2 separate regions of the Homo sapiens genome follow, and region 1 is linked to region 2. Evidence: promoter capture Hi-C in human tissues and cell types (Jung and others, 2019). All regions are on one chromosome and are shown on one strand. Each heading gives the region's core, a stretch centred on a gene start or on the middle of the fragment in contact. The rest is flanking DNA. Distances are from core to core; before and after follow the strand shown. Region 1 has its middle 12 kb from the start of SMCR2. Region 2 holds the start of TOM1L2 (target of myb1 like 2 membrane trafficking protein).

Region 1 (6,900 bases), core at 2,587-5,086, 310 kb after region 2:
AGAGGAGCTCAGATGCCGTGGCTGCTCTGTGGTCTGCACTGGAGGTTTGGCTGCAGGAAACTGGTCCTTTCTCTTCAGAAGTGCAGGCCCATCTGGGGCATCAGCAGCCACAGCTGGGGTGGGCTGGCAGTCTTGGGTGAGGACAAAGACTCCAGCTGCCCAAGAGCCAGGGCCAGACTGTCGTCCAAGGCCCCACTGAGCCAAGGGCATTCAGCTCAGGGCCCGTGTGTGTGTGTGTGCGCGCGCGCGTGTGCGTGTGTGTGCGCAGGTGTGGGCATGTGCAGCTGTGCCAGTGCCCCGCTAGGCCTTGAGTGTGTACAGGTCACCTGCCCCTGCCTGTCTCTGTCTGCACTCTTTCCCTCCACAGGTGTTAGAGCCTGCAATGCCCCGGATGCTGGGCTGGGTAGGGGTGCAACAGTGACTGAAGCAGACACAAATCCATGTCCTCATGGAGCCAACATTCTAGTGGGTATCTGGGGCAGGAGAGAGACAGACAAAATAGAAAGGTAAATATAGGAGCTATGGATGATGAGTGTCCCAGGGGGTGCGGGAGGGGGTGGGAGGGGGAAGCAGCTTGTTAGTTAGGTGAGAGAAGGTGGTCTTAGAGCCTCTAGAGACCTGAGGGAGGCAGGGGACAGATGTGTGGGGAGCTGGGAAGAGGAGACAGCAGGTGTAAAGGTCCTGAGGCAGGAGTGTGCCGGGAGCAGTGGGGAGGCCTGTGGGGCTGAAGAGCAATGCATGGGGGCAGAGAGCAGGAGGCAAGGACAGAGAGGGTCAGGACCAGCTTGGGTGGCCACAGTGTACAGTGGGGCCTCTGGCTCAGACCCTGAGTGACGGGGTCCTTCAGGGAGAGCTGGGATCTCCCCTAGGTCCTCACAGTGCACCCTGGCTGCTGAGAGGGGCCAGGGCAGGAGCAGGAGGCCTGGGAATCCAGGGGGCCCTGGCCAGGGTGGGGCTGTGGGCAATGAAAAGATTCCAATTCCAAATATACCTTGAAGGTAGAATAGACAAGAATTTCTGACGTGGGGTGAGGAGAGGAGCCCAGGACACTCCAGAGTTTTCCACCTGAGCAAGAGCAGGGTGTGGCCTGAACAACAGATGGCGTGCCCAGGCCCTCTGTGGCATCTAACTGTTGTTAGAGGCCCAGGTGTAAGGAGGGAGGGGTGTGCATCTGTCCACACACGTGGGTGGGGTGTGTGCAACTCTGTGTGCAGCCCTAGAGGGCCAGGCTGGGGTCTCAGGGCTGCTGGTTGGAGCCTTACCCCATTCCTGATGGGGCCAGCTCCCAGCCACCGCTGGAGGCAAGAATGGCCCCTTCCTGGCTTGCTCCTGGGGGGCACTCAGCTCTTTCTGCTCTCCTGAGTCCCTAGAAATGAGGGTGCACTCAGCCATGCCACAACCCCTGCCCTTCTCCTTCCTGCTGCCCTCCAGGGCCTGTGGGATGGGGGCAGCAGACAAAAGGGAGAAAAAACCAAGGAGGGAGGGGCCATGGCAGGCCCCTGAGAGTCATCTGTGGGGTGAACACAGCCCTTTAGACATAACCCTCCCAAGACCCCCACCTGTTGCTGGGATGGACGTTGTTGGAGTCTGTTCTGGGGCCCCTGAGAGGAGGAACCTGCCCAATAGCAGAGACACTGACCCCCACGCTGAGGTCACCTCCCTCCAAAGCCAGAAAAAAATCCCATTGATCCACTCAGCTCTCAAAGTTCATCTACCCTCCTTCTCCATTTCCCCAAATCCTGGTCATTCTCCAAAACCAGCTCACCCTCTGGCTTCTGGGAACCTGGTGAGGCACCAAGAAGGTGGGTGCTTGAGTCAGCCAGAGGGCTCATGCTTCTGCCCTGCCACCTGTTGCTGTGTGACCTTGGGCAAGTCACATCACCTCTGAGCAGGCACTTCCTCCCCCTGTAACTTGGAGCTGCTAACAGCTTCTCTGTGGGGCCGTTCAGAGGTAAGCTGCACAGAGGACTTAGCTGTTGCTTCTGTGAGCCTTGGTTTCCTAATCTGTCAAGGGCTGTGGGAAGATGAAGTGAGACACTGTGGAGGCCCAGCTTGGAGGCCACGGTGTGCCTCCCCTGAATTCATACCTTCCTGCTCCCAGGACCTACCCATCCGTCTCTCTGTGCTCCTCACTCTACTTCTCTGAGAGCCCCACTGTTCTGGGGAGCTCTCACCAGCCATGGTCACAGGCTCTTGGGGCCTATGGTGTCAGCGCTGATGGGGTCTCAGGTCTGTCACTGTACCCGGCCCCACAGCCAGAGCTAAGTTTGGGAGCTGGCCACGGAGTGTCTGCGGCTCATGATGGTAGGCTGAAAAATGGCCCCTAAAGATATCCAGGTCCTCATCCCTGGAACGTGTGGGTGTCCCCTTTACAGCCAAAAAATGGGCTCCTGCAGATGTGCAAAGTTAAAGGTCTTGAGATAAGGAGATGATCCTGGGCTATCTAGGGGTTCCTTAAATGCTGTCCCTAGTGTCCACAACAGAGAGAGGCTGAGGGAGACTCGACAACACAAGCACGGAGGAGGAGACTGCGCGGCCACCGAGGCAGAGACCAGAGTGATGCAAACACAGCCAGGGATCACCAGGGCAGCTGGCTGAGGCTGCAAGGGGCCCTGCACAGGTTCTCCCCTGGCGCCTCCGAGGGGGCACAGCCCCACAGACGCCATGACTCGAGACCAGTGATACTGATTTTGGACACCCAGTCTCCAGAACTGCAAGAGAATCATTTCTGCTGTTCTAAGCCCCGACATGTGTAGTAACTCTTTACAGCAGCAACAGGGAACGAACACTCACAGCTTAGGATTTCCTGGCTACCGCCCAGACCTCGCCCTGCCTCATGTCCATCCAGAGCTGGGCGTGAGTGTGTAGGGTGTGCAGGTGGCCATTTACTCCTGTAGGCCAGCAGGGGCCCGGGGATCCTGGGCAGGTAGAGGGGATGGAGGATGGACAGGCTCTGGAAGCCCAGACCACGTGGATGTTCTGTGAACTGCTGGACCCTCAGCCCAGGCCCAGGAGCATGGGAGGAGTAAGCCACAGAGCATGTGTTGGCTGCTTGTGTCCACACACAGCTGGGGGGTGTGTTTGGTGCATGTCCACGTGGTGGGTTGTGCGGGTATAGAGGTGGGGAGTAGGCACTTGTGCACCTGGTATAGACCCAGTGGAAAACCCAGGTGTGCCAGAAACAGCCAGCTTCCTTTTTTCTTTTTCTTTTTTTTTTTTTTTGAGATGGATCTCACTCTGTCACCCAGGCTGGAGTTCAGTGGTGTGATCTCGGCTCACTACAACCTCCACTTCCCGGGTTCAAGCGATTCCCCTGCCTCAGCCTCCCAAGTAGCTAGGATTACAGGCGCCGGCTGCCACGCCCGGCTAATTATTTTGTATTTTTAGTAGAGATGGGGTTTCAGCATGTTGGCCAAGCTGGTTTCGAACTCCTGACCTCAAGTGATCCACCCTCCTCGGCCTCCCAAAATTCTGGGATTACAGGCATGAGCCACCACGCCCAGCCCCTTTTTTTCTTTAAATCATCTTACATCCTGTTCTAAGCCCCTATCCTGCTGGCTGGTGGGCAACTGAATCTCAGCCATTATTGGGAGCTTCTTTCTTCTCCAGAGCCACACAAAGGTCCCAAGGCCATGATGAGTCTGGCCACCGGGTCTGGCAAAGGAGGCCAGCAAAGCTCTCTGAGACAAGCTAGGGACCAGGCTGCCTGCACTGGAGCATGGGGTGGGGTTAGTAAAACAGAACAAAACCAAAATTAATATCTGCTGTTTGTCTAGAACCCTGGAGCTTTGCTGCTCAATATGGTTGTCATTAGCCACGTGTAGCTAGGTACATTTCAATCAATTTAAAAGAAATAAAACTTAAAATTGTGTGTGTGTGTGTGTGTGTTTCTTTTAGAGTCTCACTCTATCACCCAAGCTGGAGTACAAATGGTGCGGTCTCAGCTCACTGCAACCTCCACCTCCCGGGTTCAAGCGATTCTTCCGCTTCAGCCTCCCTAGTAGCTGGAACTATAGGCACATGCCACCACACCCGGGTAATTTTTGTATTTTTGGTAGAGACAGGGTTTCACTCTGTTGGCCAGGCTGGTCTTGAACTCCTGACCTTGTGATCCGCCTACCTTGGCCTCCCAAAGTGCTGGGATTACAGGCATGAGCCACCGCGCCCGGCCTTTAAAATTGTTATTATTATACTAGTCACTTTCTGGTGTTCAGGAGCGGTGTGTGGCCACCCTGTGGGACCTGGTATAGGAAGTTCTATTGGGCTGTACTGCCAGAAGCGTTCAACCACTGACATGAGTTCTGCCCCTCTGAGTGGGGTGACCTGCCCATTTACAGATGGGGATGCAAGGATCAAGCACAAAATGACTTACCCAAGGTCACTGGCAGCAGTTGGCACCTCCAAGCTCCATGGGCAGTGGCACCCCGGGCCACGGGGTAGAGTGGGTGCTTGCCAATGTTGGCTGCTGAGTGAACGTGCCAGTGCCGTCCTCTGCCTCCTTGGAGGAAAGCTGCCTGTGAAGAACAGTCCTGCCCTCGTTCAGAGGTACGGCCTCCTGATCTCAGCCTGGTAAGGCACTGTGTGGCTCTAGCCCTACCTCAGGTACCACACTTTGCCTCTTTGGGACCCTGTGTCCCCGTCCATGAGATGGAGATTGTGACCACTGCATAGGGCTGCCTGGGATTTCCATGAGTTAATGTCTGTGAAGTGCATAGTACAATCTAACTCAATCATACGACGTTTGAGAGATGATGGGATTTGGCACACAGGAATGAGCACTGCGCCTCCTCAGAGTGACTCCCAGAGGTCAAGTTGGGATTTACTTAGACTGAGACCCGCAACCTTATCATGCTTCTAGCATTCATCTGACAAACATCTATTAAGCTTGCTTTTGGGGGCCACGACCGATGTAAGCCTGCAGCTGTGAGGTCTACCCTAGGCTAGGGAAGGTTATTCTGAGAAGAAAGTGAACCCCAAGGAAGGGGAAATCCAGAAGAAGATTCCTGATGACATCTGACAGCTGGATCCAGCTGTTCCTGAAGCTTTTATATTCCTGTTTTGTTTGCCAATAATTTTTTTTGTCATTTACAACTCAAAGCCAGGCCGTCTGGTCCAACCCCTTGTCCCCTGATACTTGATGCTTCTCCATAGCAGCTATGACAGTCTCTGCTTGGATGCTGCTCATGATGGGGATCTCACTACCTACCAAGGGAGCTCTACAAGGGCAGAACCAACTCTGGTGCAAGTGAGAGCTGATAATCTATTGCTCTTGTCTGGAAATGGTGTGCACAGCTGGGAGCTCCCCTGGATTGGATTCAGGGCAGTGGAAAGAGGACCCTTCATGGTTCAGTAGACCTGAATTCAAATTTCAGGCCTGGTGGTGACTCACTGTGTGACCTGAGTGAGGCAAGGGACTTCCCCTACCTGAACCTCAGTTTCAACATCTGTAAAATGGTCTCCCTGGCCACACTGATTTGGTGAGGACACCACGAGGATTAAGCAAGAAAATGTGTGTGAAGCTCTGGGCGCACGCCAGTGTGTGGCACACAGGGGACACCTGAGGGCCACATCCCTCCTGTGGGTAATGCTAATGGACACTGCACACCCATCTGAGAGGGTCCACTCTGCGTCCATAAGAGGTTGGCACTGGGGAGTCCGCACTGGGCCAGGCTGCTCCTGCTCTGCGGAGCGTCTGCTGCAGCTGTGACTCACAGCCCGACCACACTCACAGCCCAAGACTCGGAGCCGTCTGTTGTTATGGCGACGCAAGCCCACTGGAGTCCTGGGCTGTCAGTCATCAAGGTCTGACGCTGGGGGTGTGTTTTGGCGTGTGGGTGTGGCCTGTGTGTTTGTGTAGGGGGATGGGCGTGTGAATGCTATTCCTGCGTGTTCAAGGCAGTGTGCTGGTGTTTGTGTGTGGACTTCCTGTGTGTGCAAGGCTGGGCATGTCTGCATTGAGGGCGTTTGTCTGTGTGTGGTGTTGAGCTGTGTGTGCGGTCTGGGTGTCTGTGGGCTGTGTGTGTGTGTAATGTGCCTTAGGAACGCTGGCCCTGAGGCAGGGTGGACAGGAGGGTGGCCCAGGGAGGGGTGTAGGCCTGGGTGTCTATCGCTCTGACCTGGTGGCCCTGGGTTGGTCACTGCACCTTTCTCAGCCTGTTTCCCCCTCAATAAGCACAGCAGGTTGCAAAGGGCACTCACACTCGCTATTTCATTTAATCCTCCTGTGATCCTGTACCAGCAGCTGCTCACTCAACTCATATTTAGAGTCCACTCTGTGTCAGGCCCTGGGGATACAGCCATGAACAGAGACTTCCTCCGCTGAGGGTCTCCAGTCTCCAGTCTGGTGGGAGATGGACAATACACAAACAAGCAAACAAAACCAGAGACTCCAGTGGGTGCTGGGAGAAGGAACAGCAGGAGGAGGGCACAGAGAGTGATGGGGTGGAAACTGAGGACAGGGTGGTCAGAGAGGTGACTTATGAGCAGAGGTTCTGAGGAAGGAGGCCAGAGTCATGGGAAGAGCATCGCAAGCATCGCAACAGTAAGTGCAGAGGCCCTGAGGCAGGTGGAGGTTCATGTATCTGTGGCCCAACGAGCAGGCCGCGCACTGCAGCGGTGTGGGTGGGATGGGCAAGGCCACTGCCATTTGCAGTTTGTGGATTCCAAGGCAAGTGCACTGGTGAAAACAGCCCATTGTTCATCCACTGATGAATGGAGAGGCAACATGCGGTATGTCCAGACAAGGAAATAGTATTTGTCAATAAAAAGGAACAAATGGCCAGGCGCGGTGGCTCATGCCTGTAATCCCAGCACTTTGGGAGGCCAAGGCGGGCAGATCACTGAGATCAGGAGTTTGAGACCAGCCTGACCAACATGGAGAAACCCTGTCTCTACTAAAAA
Region 2 (6,913 bases), core at 1-2,500:
AAAATAAAAAATAAATAAATAAATAAATAATGAACAAAATTTTTCTTAAAAAAGAATAAAATCAATCACTTACTGAATGCTTACTGTGTGCTCAGTGCACATGCATTATTTAAGTACATGTAAGCTCCGGAGGCCATAAAAAGGGAGTCCTAATGCCCTTATTTCCCAGCTAGGGAACCTGAGGCTCCAGGGAGGTAAAGGAACTTGTCCAAAGTCGTACAATGAGTTACTGACAGAGACGGATACAGAACTTGAGTAGCCGTATTCACATCCAAAGCGGTATATACAGTACCAAGATGAAATCATTTGATAGTTATGAGGTCAGTTATGATGGCTAAATTCTGGGAAAAGTTATCAGTGGACCGGGTACCTCTCTTTCTATGAAAGGAGGCTGGAAGACGGAACCCCTTAAAAATCCATTCTGGCCCTGCTCCCTCGGGAAATGCTTCCTTAGTATTTTTTTTTTTTTTTATTCAAAAGCTTGACAAGCCCAGGACTAAAGTGTCTTGGCTGTCTCACACGACTGTAAAGTGGCTGGGAGAGGACCTACGTGCTCATTTTATAAATGAGAAGGGCCGGGCCGGCGTTCTCCGAGAAAAAGGTCACAGGAAAGAGTTACGTCGGGCACTATCTGTCCCTGCAAGTCCTCCGGGAGCCTCAGCTCCCAGGTCTCACCTTCTCAAGCGCTGGGAACTCGGCGGTTCCACGCAGCAGACGCGTCTCCCGGTTGCTGGGGAACCAAGCGCCGCGACTTGGTTGCTAAGGGGAAGTCAGAAGGGAGACATCCTGGGTGAAAGTTGACAAGTCACGTGACCACATCTCCGTGTGGTGAAACACTCCTTACACCAACCAGCCGTAGAGAAAACAAATGTTTCTCCAATCAGTACTTTCTATGGGCGGGGATATTCCTAGATTCACCTCTGTTCCGTCCATTTGCGTGATTGACTCGTCTTTTGTCCAATAATAGTAAGAATCCTTTAGATTGACCAATATACAGAGGAATCAAAATGCGCAGCTTCCCCTTTGGGGGCGGGCCAGGGGAGGTGCCGCCACGGCTGACAGGGACTCCGGTGACCTAGCTCGCTCCTCCGCCCAATCGGACGCTGCGGGGTGGGTGGGGGCTTTGCTGACAGAGGTGTAACGACCAATAGGAGGCGGGCTTCGTAGGTGTCCCCCAATAGAGACGCGGCAAGGGGGCGGGGCCAAAGGCCCTAAGCTCGGCGTTCCAGAGAGTGGGGAGGGGGCAAGTGTCAGTCAGGACGGGAGTCCGGCGGGTTACAGCGGAGGCCTAGGTGGCAGACAGGGGGCCCGGGCCGCTGCGTGTTGTCCACCCAAGATGGAGTTCCTCCTGGGGAACCCGTTCAGCACACCAGTGGGGCAGTGCCTCGGTAAGGCCGCGTGTGGGGCAGGAGGCTGGGCAACGGCGGCCGCTGATCCGGCTGGTGAGGACCGCGGGCCTCCGCCGGGCGCCGGTGCCACTTCACGAGCGGGCTGGGCCTCCGCCAGCCGCGGGTGCCACTCCACGAGCGGGCTGGGCATCCTGGTCGTCGGGCCTTTGCCGGGCGCTTGTGCCACCTCACGGGCGGGCTGGGCATCCTGGTCGTCTGGCCTTCACTGGGCGTCGGTGCCACCTCACGGGCGGGTTGGGCATCCTGGTCGTCGGGCGTTCGCCGGGCGCCGGTGCCACCTCCCGGGGGGGCTGGGCCTTCGCCGGGTGCCGGTGCTATCCCACGGGCAGGCAGGGCATCTGTGTCCTCGGGCCTCCTCCCGGGCACTGGTGCCACCTCACGGGCGCGCCAGTGCCACTCTGCCAGGAGGCACCCCTGAGGCCCAACTTGGACTCGGAGATGCCCCAGGCTTCCCTGCCCATCAAGGCTCAGCCCTTCCTTTTGCTGCTAGAGGTGGTGCCAACTGCTGGTCTGCTTCCCCAATGCGCTTTGGGAGATGCCACTGCATGTGTCTTTATCCAGCCCAGCAGGCTCACTGCCACTGCCCCAAGGACCCAGTTCTCCCAAACCCTTTGTGGGATGTCACCTTCTTCTCCATCTTTGTCCCTCCTCTTCGGTACCAGCAACCCTCAGACTGGGCACCCTCCCAGAAATGCCCCCTGCTCCGGGACTTGCTAATTTGAGCTGCAACTCAGCTGTGCTGTAGGAGGGACTGGGATAGGAGGAGGGGCTCTTGGAGGGTGATTATCTTGGCAGGGGGATGGCATGCCTGCAGTGCCTCCCAGGAAAGAAGGGAGGCTGTGTTATTTAATGATAAGAGCCCTGGACTGGGAATCATGGAAGCCTGGACTCTAGCAGTGGTTTTGTCAGTGACTCCATATGACCTTGTGCCCTTTCTGGTTTGAAGTTCCCCTGTCTGTCAAAGTGTTTGGAGATGAGATGTGATAGATCCCTTAAAGTTCTCAAGTTTTGATATTCTTTGTAGTACTCTGCACATTGACTGTTGCTTCCTCCCCCACCTCATATTAAGTTTACCAAAGCTGAAATCTTTTGTTGGCAATGTAGAGAGAATGGTACTCAGCATTATCTGTTAATCCTATAGGGGGGATGTGGACACCTGGGGACACCAGAGATGGCCAGAATCATGGATAAGGAAAGCCCAAAGTGTAGGTAAAGGAATACTGAAATGGCCACCATATGGGACTTCCTTACTAAGAAAGCAACTTGCCTTTTTACCCAAGGCAGTGGCTTATGCCACTTGATCAGTCAAGAATGCTGATTAGTTTGTTTGAAAACTGGATTCCTCCTGGTTGGTTGAAGGACTGGTAAAACGTCTTTTATGAGCCAGGATCTTTGGTGTTCTTATGGGCCTGATTTCAGCAGTAGTGATTTGTTTATTTTCTGCTTTGCTTATGAAATTTTAGCTTACTTTCCAGCCTTTAGTGGAGCCTATAAACTTATTGAGGTCTCTCCTGTTGGCTAATTAGCATTTAGGAGCCTTTCTTTACTTTCTGGCGTAGTATCTTTTATAATGCATGAGGGACCCCAAAAGAGTGTTTTCCCACCTTTTTGACATCTTGTCTCTTGCTGCCCACTGGAGAGTCTCTGGATTCTCACTTCCTTACTTCTTCCCCATGTCCTTTTCCACTCTCTTCAGGTGCTCTTGCATGGCAGCCACACTCCAAAAACTAATTTCCAGCCAGTTAATGGAGGGAGCCAGAAAACTTGCGAGAATTGTTTTCCTTTCTGTCCCCTTTATAATAGGAAGCTCTACACCTTTAAAATGACAAGGTAGTAAATGAGGGGTAGAAGTTAAAGGGGATTTAAAATACAAATGTGGTTGGGTGCGGTGGCTCACGCCTGTAATCTCAGCACTTTGGGAGGTTGAGGCGGGCGGATCACAAGGTCAGGAGATCGAGACCATCTTGGCTAACACGGTGAAACCCCGTCTCTACTAAAAATCCAAAAAAAAAAAGAAAATTAGCCAGGCGTGGTGGCATGCGCCTGTAGTCCCAGCTACTCGGGAGGCTGAGGCAGGAGAATTGCTTGAACCCGGGAGGCGGAGTTTGCAGTGAGCTGAGATTGTGCCACTGCACTCCAGCCTGGGCGACAGAGTGAGACTCTGTCTCAAAAAACAAACAAACAACAACAACAACAACAAAAAACCAAATATAAGAGATATAGGGATATATAGCAAGTGGAAAGAGCTTGATACTTCTGTCAGGGAGACCTAAGTTGAATTTTGACCTGGCCCCCATTTCTTGGCTGTGTGACCCCAGAAAATTGTGTTGCTTTCTGAGGTTTAGTTTGTCAGTCTTCTGAGAGAGAGAGAGAGAGAGAGAAAGATTCCTATTCACAGAGTAATGTAGTTTAAATGAGATAATGTATGAAAACACTTAGCATAGTATCTGGAACATAGTAGAAGCTCAGTAAATTGAAACTGCCACTGTTAATAACAGAATATTTAAGTTAGGGTTGGATTTTCTATCTGGAGAGGATATGTGAAACAACTGGCCCGTCTGTGACCTGTGAAGGAAAATACCCTACCAGGCCCCAGGATTCACCATTGCTCATAAGATGCTTGACTAAAGATGATGATGGCTCCCCACTGCCAGGTAGCCAATAGGTCATTTCAGTTCAGTTCAGGTAAATGATTAATGGACAGAATTAGGTTCTAATGTATATTCCGTACTGTTGTGACAAAGTGTCAAAGTGACTTTCTTGATATTTAGTGTTGTTAGTATTCTTTTAAAAGAATGTGCGGGGGTGGGGGATTGGTGGGAGGGAGGGGGAATACAGAAATAAAATAACAACTACAAAGCTAATGATTAAAAACAGCAGCTGTAGGCTGGTTGTGGTGGCTCATGCCTGTAATCCCAGCACTTTGGGAGGCCAAGGTGGTGGATCACTTGAGGTCAGGAGTTGGAGGCCAGCCTGACCAATATGGTGAAACCCTGTCTCTACTAGTAATACAAAAATGAGCCGGGTGTGGTGGTGGGCGCCTGTAATCCCAGCTATTCAGGAGGCTGAGACAGGAGAATCGCTTGAACCTGGGAGGCAGAGGTTGCAGTGAGCCAAGATTGTGCCACCGCGCTCCAGCCTGGGCGACAGAGTGAGACTCTGTCTCCAAAAAAAAAAAAAAAAGGAGAGCTGGTCCCTCTCTGATCCCTGTCCTCAATGGATTTACGGTTTCAGGAGAGAAGACAGAGATGCATGAAACAATGAGTGGTGTAGATTGTAAGTGCTGAAGGAGTCAGAAACAATTCAGAAGAGGCTGGGGTGACAGGGACTGGCTTCTTTGAGTCTGAGGGCTGTTCATAAAGGATGGGTAGGAACTCTGCATGCAGAAAACAATATCATTGGGCCTAGGGACAGCTGAATGAGGCAGGGAGTGGGGCACAGGCACATCTGTGAGTACCAGTCTGAATGGAGCAGAGGTGGCTGTGGGGAGTGGTGGCAAGTAGGGTTTGGGCACAGGAGGAAGCCCTGCTCTGGATGGGTGGCATCAAAGACTACATTCTTTTTTTTTTTTTTTTTGAGATGGAGTCTCACTTCATCACCCAGGCTGGAGTGCAGTGGCACGATCTAAGCTCACTGCAACCTCCGCCCCACAAGTTCAAGCGATTCTCCTGTCTCAGCCTCCCAAGTAGCTGGGATTACTGGTGCCTGGCACCGTGCCGGGCTAATTTTTGTATTTTTAGTAGAGACAAGGTTTCACTACCTTGGCCAGGCTGGTCTTGAACTCCTGACCTCGTGATCCACCCTCCTTGGCCTCCCAAAGTGCTAGGATTATAGGAGTGAGCCATTGCGCCCGGCCCAAAGACTACGTTCTTTAACTGACTTCAACTTTTAGTCTCTTTGGACCTAATTTTCCCTGCTTATAAAATAATACTTCTCAACAGCTGCATGGGGCTTACACCTAAATAATTTTGTCTGTTCACTTCAGTAGGCAGTTATGAGTGCCTGTGGGGGGCCAGGCCTGTGCCAGGCTCTGGGGATACAAATATTAACAAGCTGCTCTTAGGGAGCCTTCGGTAGAGGTAACATGCTCACAAAAGGTGTCCTGGGTCTGTCTGAGCGGTTGGTGGAGTAATTCTTACTCTGTCTTATGCGTGGGCCTCATGTGAACATTCTAACCTGGTACGATTTAGTAGAACACTTAGCGTGTTCATCTCAAGTTAGCGGCTAAGACCACAGTCTGACATAGTTAACTGTGCATTTCTTGCATCCATCCCGCCCTTTATTCTGGAGGGCAGTTCCTGAGTAGAAAGCATGGTTTAGGGAGAGAGTAAGCTGGACAGGTGCGGTGGCTCACACCTGTAATCCAGCACTTTGGGAGGCCGTGGCGGGTGGATCACCTGAGGTTAGGAGTTCAAGACCAGCCTGGTTAATGTGGCAAAACCCCATCTCTACTAAAAATACAAAAATTAGCTGGGCATGGTGGCACGCGCGTATAATCCCAGCTACTCGGGAGGCTGAGGCGGAAGAATCCCTTGAACCTGGGAGGTGGAGGTTGCAGTGAGCCGAGATCGTGCCATTTGCACTCCAGCCTGAATGACAGAGCGAGACTGCATCTCCAAAAAAGAAAAAAAAGAGAGAGAAAGCCTAGCCATGGTGTGCGAGGCTAAGAAGTGTGGTGGAAGAAAGAGTACTTACTTGTATTTCTTAATTTTCTGTTCTGCAACAAGCTTCAAAATGTTAACTGTCTTAATCTCAGCCTTCCACAACTGCTTGGAGTTGGATGACATACATGGGGAGTTCCCCAAGTCAGGTCCATTGTGTCTGCAGCAGTTTGCAGTTTTCCTTGTGTTGGCTAGAAAAAGTTTTCAGAAAATCCTTTTCCAAGAGTAAAGTTTAGATTCAAAGATCAGTGAGTAGTTAGTTAATTCTGACCAGAATATTGGGGGTGGTGGGCATGTATTCTCTTCATTGTTCTGCTTTAATAAACAGGCAAGAAGCAGATATTCTGTTGCAGAGTTTGTTTGTAGACTGACTGGTGTTGGACATAAACTACTTCATAATATCCTGTGAATGGTAGACGTTTAACCTGGCTATTTGTACCAAGAATAGTTAGTTGTCCCTCAGATTGCTATGTGTATTAGGGTTCTCTAGAGGGACACAACTAATAGGGTAGATGTTTATATTAAGGGGAGTTTATTAAGGAGTACTGACTCACACAATCACAAGATGAGGTCCCACAGTAGGCCATCTGCAAGCTGAGAAGCAAGGAAGCCAGTCTGAGTCCCAAAGCTGAAGAACTTGGAGTCTGATGTTCAAGGGCAGGAATTTGCAAAGCCCTTTTGCTTCAGTCATTTTATTTAGTGTTCACAACCTTGTGAGATATACAGGAAGATAACTGGAAGGAACTTATAATTATTAAGTACCAACTATATGCAAACTCTGTACATAGAATCTCATTTAACCCTCACAACATTTAACTATTTGGGTGTTATCATCCCTGTATC

The links. Contacts are between HindIII fragments. The study calls those that stand out against the background at their distance.
Region 1: a contact is called between a fragment that was not itself captured here and the fragment with the promoter of TOM1L2 in region 2, in 2 of the 25 tissues and cell types used here (H1 embryonic stem cells and liver).

The regions. Positions count from the first base shown.
Region 1 is chr17:17,662,368-17,669,267 of GRCh38, reverse strand. No RefSeq gene overlaps it. Among named protein-coding and RNA genes, the nearest start is that of SMCR2, 12 kb to the left of the region's middle. RefSeq lists enhancers at 792-1,291, 1,292-1,793, 5,446-5,585, 6,076-6,165. The HindIII fragment of the contact is 4,773 bases long and covers 1,450-6,222 here.
Region 2 is chr17:17,966,737-17,973,649 of GRCh38, reverse strand. TOM1L2 (target of myb1 like 2 membrane trafficking protein) reads left to right here and starts at 1,250. Exons shown (of 15, transcript NM_001082968.2): 1 at 1,250-1,388. The coding sequence starts at 1,337. DRC3 (dynein regulatory complex subunit 3) reads right to left here and starts at 788. Exons shown (of 14, transcript NM_031294.4): 1 at 676-788. RefSeq lists enhancers at 497-816, 1,188-1,757 and a silencer at 1,497-1,546. The HindIII fragment of the contact is 12,285 bases long and covers 1-6,913 here.